Regions from separate parts of the Homo sapiens genome. Here region 2 is linked to region 1. Evidence: promoter capture Hi-C in 16 types of primary human blood cells and fetal thymus (Javierre and others, 2016). All regions are on one chromosome and are shown on one strand. The core of a region is centred on a gene start or on the middle of the fragment in contact, and the rest is flanking DNA. Distances in the headings are between cores, read along the strand shown. Region 1 holds the start of CARD11 (caspase recruitment domain family member 11). Region 2 has its middle 21 kb from the start of GNA12.

Region 1 (2,690 bases), core at 110-2,609:
TACAGATGCCTTGCTGGGGAGAGAACCGGAGTTTCCGCGAAAGCGCAGAAGTGGACACTTACGGAGAAATTCCTGTCCTCATATCAATTCCCGGCTCCCGGGATTTCCGGCACGCATTATGCACAGGCTGAGCGCTCAATAAATGTGGAATGAACGATCGACTATTTTTCTCCCCTTTCTGGTAGGTTGGTAACCTTATACCTTCAAGACGAGTCATAAATATTAGGAGAAAATGTTTTGAACTACAAATCAAAGGCTTTGAGAGCAGGCCAGGCAGAGAGAGGTCAGTTTGGTCCAAGACCAAGTTTGTGTGGGCAGCCCCGAAGCTCACAGCTGAGACCACTGTCCATGAACCTGGGTCCCCGTGACAGCCTCCAGCGGTGCTCAGAGCCCCCGAGGGACAGAAACACCCTCTCTGCCCCTATCTGCAGAGGGGGCTCAGCAGAAGGCCTGGTGGCCCCATCGGGCCTGGAGGGGCCTCCTGGGGGAGGTGGCTTTCAGGCCTGAGGCCGCTAGGACCTGCTCCGGGTTTCAGTCGGGAACCTGGGCCCTCTCCTGTGCCCCCGCCACCCCCTTTCTAGTACAGTCCCCGCGGGGGGCTGTCCTCTCCCATCTCCCAGCTCCACACCCACTTTTGGTGCGGCTGCCCTTCCTCCCTGAGCCAGGCCCCACCTTCCCAGGAGCCTCTGAGTCAGGCTGGGCTGTGGTCTGCAAACTTCCGGGCCTTTCAGGTGTCAGAAAAGTTTCTCTTCCTCCCTCTGGGGCAGGTGCACCAAGGGGCTGCAGCCTCCTGACCCCCGATTTTTTCCTGTCCAGTAGGAGGAGGTGGGGGCTTTGCTGGGCGGTGATACTCAGAGACGCTCAAAGAGACACGGAGGAGAGGCACACGAGGTGGAAAGTGAGGGAGAAAAAGGGTTGGAAGGGAAAAAGGGGAGAGGAGAGTGAGAGAGAGAAGGGGGGCAGGGGGACAGAGATGGAGAGGGAAGGATACCCCCAGCATCGCGGGACCAGCGGGAGCCACTCCCATCCCCCGACGCCCCCCCCGCCACCGTGTCATCTCACTGATGCCCCCCATCTCCTCCCCGTGCCCTCTTCTCTTCCCCCAACTCCCCGCCTCGTGCTCCCCCTCCGCCAGCTCCCCCATCCCCGCTGCGCCTACCTGGGGCGCTCATGCTCCGCCAGCCAGCTGCGCGGGGCGCCTCCTCCACGCAGGCCTCCGGCTTCCTCCAGGCGACCAGGCCCTCCGTCCCCCCGGGCCCGGAGCCGTCCTCCGAGGGGCGCCGCCCGCCCAGGGGCTGCAGGGCCGGGAGGGGGCTGCGGGCGGCGCGGGCAGGAGTCCGAAGGCCAGAGGAGGCAGGAGAGAAAAAAGGAGAGAAAGTATGTCATAGGCTGGGAGGGGCGGGGGAGGGAAATGCAAAACCCGACAGGAAATGAGACTAAAAAATGCGAAAGGTTAGAAAAAGATAAGGAAGAGAGGGAGGGGGCGGAGTCGGTGCTTCGGGAGGAGGGCGGCAAGGAGGTGGGGGTGGGAGTGGGGACAGGGCCGGGGGTGGGGGTGCTTGGGGACAGATCAGGGAGCCGGAGATGGGGAGACCAAGGCGAGTCTCAGGGCCCAGCCCACCTGCATCAGTCGGGGTGAGGCTGGACCAGTCTGGGCATCAGTCCCCACCCAGCCGTGACCCCCGGCAGAGTCCAGGTGGGGCCTTGGGAGGGGCTCTCTCCCTTCTAGGTTCTCCAGGGCACTGGCTCCCGAGATCTAGCTGAATTTCTGAAGAAATTCCAGAGCCTGTCACTGCAATGGGAGGGGAACGGGGTGCCCCACATCAAATCCTGCAGCCTCCTACACCCCAAGCCTCTTTCCTCCCTCAGCCCCTGTTCTGGAAGCTTCCTGGGCATGCCGGGTGGTCAGCACCCCTTCAAAGGCCTTCCTCACCCCGACAGCTTTGGGGTCCAAGACACCCACCATCAGCTTGTGCCCTCGATGTTCCGGTGAAGTATACTTGTAAGAGAAACTGTGATTTGGATGTCATCATTTTACTTTATTTTTATTTTTTGAGATGGAGTCTCGCTCTGTCACCCAGGCTGGAGTGCAGTGGCACAATCTCAGCTCACTGCAAGCTCCACCTCCTGGGTTCAAGCGATTCTCCCACCTCAGCCTCCCGAGTAGCTGGGACCACAGGCGTGCACCACCAAACTTGGCTAATTTTTGTATTTTTAGTAGAAATGGGGTTTCAACATGATGGCCAGGCTGGCCTCGAACTCCTGACCTCAAGTGATATGCCCACCTCAGCCTCCCAAAGTGCTGGGATTACAGGCATGAGCCTCTGCGCCCAGCTGGATGTCATCATTTTAATAATTTACCCCAAATGGCCATCGTCATGGGTGGGATGGTCCCAAGGGTTTACATGGATTGCAGACTCAAAAATCTGGATGAAAGAAAATGTGATACACACACACACGCCATGCAATACTACTCAGCCATAAAAAAGAACGAAATAAAGTATTTTGCAGCAACTTGGATGGAACTGGAGGCCATTATCCTAAGTGAAGTAACTCAGGAGTGGAAAACCAAATACTACATGTTCTTATTTAAAAGCGAGAGCTAAGCTATGGGTAGGCAAAGGCAGGCAGAGTGGGATCATGGACGTTGGAGACTCAGAAGGGGGAAGAATGGGAGGGGGTAGGGGATG
Region 2 (2,690 bases), core at 137-2,636, 180 kb before region 1:
AGGGCCCTGACCTCTGTGGGAACACACAGGAAGTGGTTCATTTTCTCCCCACCAGTGACTCACTCCCGTCAGCCCTGCCCTTTCCAATCTCTGCTTCCTGTCCCTTAGCCTCAGCTTGGGTAATTCTGGGCAATAGAAAGGCCAGTCTGGTTGAGTCTGAAACTGCCATCTCACATGCAATTTCGCACTCATCTTGTCCCCCACTGAAGGGCTGGCTTAGCCTTGGCCGGAGAGCCCTGGAGAAGGAGGGGAGAGGTCGGGGGGACTGGCTGCGGTCCTTCCTCTTTCTCCTGGCTTCTGGGGTTGGGAGGGGAAGAGGAGGAAGAGGAGGAGGAGGAGAAGGTCTGGAGTGTCGGCACAATAGTAATATCAATAACAATAGCAGCTAATATTTACTGCAAGTGGTTCTCTGGGTCTGGAGATGCTCCAAGCACTTTTCTGACCGTAAGTTATGGCATTAAGTTTTGTAACTAGGAGGTAGGTCCTGTAATAAGGTCCTGTTGTAATTCCCATTTTTCTCTGTTGAGGAAACAGGCTGAGACAAGGTAGGTAATGTGCCCAAGGCCACAAAATTAGGAGGTGGCAGAGTCAGGATTGGAACCCAAGGTCTTCCTGATTCCACATCCGTTGCCCAGTCACTCCACTGCCTCACTTTCGCAAGAGTCCATATAAAGTTCCTGAGGTTGGGGCCTGGGACCTGTGGCAAGGTAAGTGTCCAGGGATTCAGCTAAGATGAGGCTTACACTTTTTTTTTTTTTGATAGAGTCTCTCTCTGTTGCCCAGGCTGGAGTGCAGTGGCAAGATCTCAGCTCACTACAACCTCTGCCTCCTAGGTTCAAATGATTCTCCCACCTCAGCCTCCCGAGTAGTTGTGACTACAGGCATGTGCCACCACGCTTGGCTAATTTTTCTATTTTTTGGTAGAGACGGGGTTTCACTGTCGGCCAGGCTGGTCTCAAACTCCTGACCTCAAGTTATCACCCCGCCTCGGCCTCCTGAAGTGTTGGGATTACAGGCGTGAGCCACTGCGCCCGGCCTGAGATGAAGCTTATTGAGGGTACTGAGAAAGATTTTTGACTCAATTTCTGAACCTTGTGAATTCTCACAGCACTTAACAGTAAGGAATTATCTGATATTTACATGCTTGTTATCTGCTTTCCTCATTAGGATGCAAACTTCATAAAACCATTTTGTTCATCTCTTCCTGATACCTGGTATGCGCTCACTAAATGCTTGGGAACGTGAATGAATGAATGAAACGTCTTCTGACGTGATCCTTGTATCTACATCTCCTTGCTGCGGCCAAGTCTCAGGTGCACCCTGAGCTCAGTGGTGGTCTTGCCTTTGCCCAGAGTGGGATGGGGTCCAGGTGGGGTGTCCCAAGCAGCCTGAAGAACATGACTCGAAATTCCCATCTGTGACCACCAGGTGTCGCTCATGCCACACAAGGAAACCCATAGATGGCCTCTGCTGAATTAGGGGTGCAGCGGGTGGGGAAATCTCATCTGTGACCACAGATGAGTTATCCAGGCTGCCATTTGTTCTCATTAGGTCCTGGATTTCCTCCTCAGAACCAGACAGATGTGATCAGCATTGTGGGCCGAGGGCCGGCACCTCCCCACCTCCCCGGCTATGGGTAGCTGTAGGGTGTCAGGGAGGGGATGCTGGGGTTCAGGCCCCGGATTCCATCCAGCTGCAGCCGTGTCACTGCCACTCCTCCTGCCCCCAAGCTTTGGCCTTGGCTGCCCAGGTAAGGCTGGCCCGGCACAGCCATTCATCAGTGTCAGCCGCCAGATGCCCCTCACAGGGCTCCCGTCCTCCGGGAACACTCCCAGGCCCCTAGCAACAAACTCAGCTTCCTGCCCTCATGGCACCGGCATCTTCCCCACTCCTTTTGCCGGGGTCTAAGTTTGGGGTGCATGCTTCCAGCCCCAGGAGCCCCCTCAATATCACACTGAGGTTGACTTGGCCATTTCTGCTTTCAGCCAACATAACCGGGTTCTAGAAGCTTCCTGACCGCTGTGGGAGGGTCACTTGGCCAGCAGGCAAGCGTTTCTTATTCCATGTACTTGAGTGAAGCAAAACCAGGGCTGTGTTTTTTTCCTTTTTTTTTTCTTTCTTTTTTTTTTTGAAACCAAGTCTCTCTGTCGCCCAGGCTGGAGATAACAGGTGCCCACCACCACGCTCAGCTAATTTTTGTATTTTTAGTAGAGATAAGGTTTCACCATGTTGGTAAGGCTGGTCTTGAACTGCTGATCTCAAGTGAACCACATGCCTTGGCCTCCCAAAGTGCTGGGATTACAGGTGTGAGCCACCACGCCTGGCCCTTTTTTCTTTTATTTGAGACAGGGTCTCGCTTTGTTGCCCAGGCTGGAGTGCAGTGGTGGGATCACAGCTCATTGCAGCCTCAACCTCCAGGGCGCAAGCGGTCCTCTCACCTCAGCCTCTTGAGTAGCTGGGACCAGAGGTGCTTGACACCACACCTGACTCATTAATTTTTTATATTTTTTGTAGAGACGGGGTTTTGCCATATTGCTCAGGCTGGTCTTGAACTCCTGAGCTCAAAGGATCCTCCTACCTTAGCCTCCCAAAGTGCTGGGATTACAGGTATGAGCCACTGTACCCGGCTAGGACTGTGTTTTTCTGTGACCCAACCTAATCGTTATTTCCAGCCCCTTTTCAGACTGATG

The links. The method cuts DNA at HindIII sites, captures the fragments that hold promoters and counts their contacts. A CHiCAGO score of 5 or more calls a contact.
Region 2: a contact is called between a fragment that was not itself captured here and the fragment with the promoter of CARD11 in region 1, in 4 of 17 cell types (total CD8 T cells, non-activated CD4 T cells, naive CD4 T cells and 1 more). The highest score is 7.3, in total CD8 T cells.

What each region holds. Positions count from the first base shown.
Region 1 is chr7:3,042,508-3,045,197 of GRCh38, forward strand. CARD11 (caspase recruitment domain family member 11) reads right to left here and starts at 1,360. Exons shown (of 25, transcript NM_032415.7): 1 at 1,160-1,360. RefSeq lists a silencer at 1,073-1,422 and an enhancer at 1,288-1,582. The HindIII fragment of the contact is 15,618 bases long and covers 1-1,882 here.
Region 2 is chr7:2,863,778-2,866,467 of GRCh38, forward strand. No RefSeq gene overlaps it. Among named protein-coding and RNA genes, the nearest start is that of GNA12, 21 kb to the left of the region's middle. RefSeq lists an enhancer at 1-61 and a silencer at 839-918. The HindIII fragment of the contact is 683 bases long and covers 1,046-1,728 here.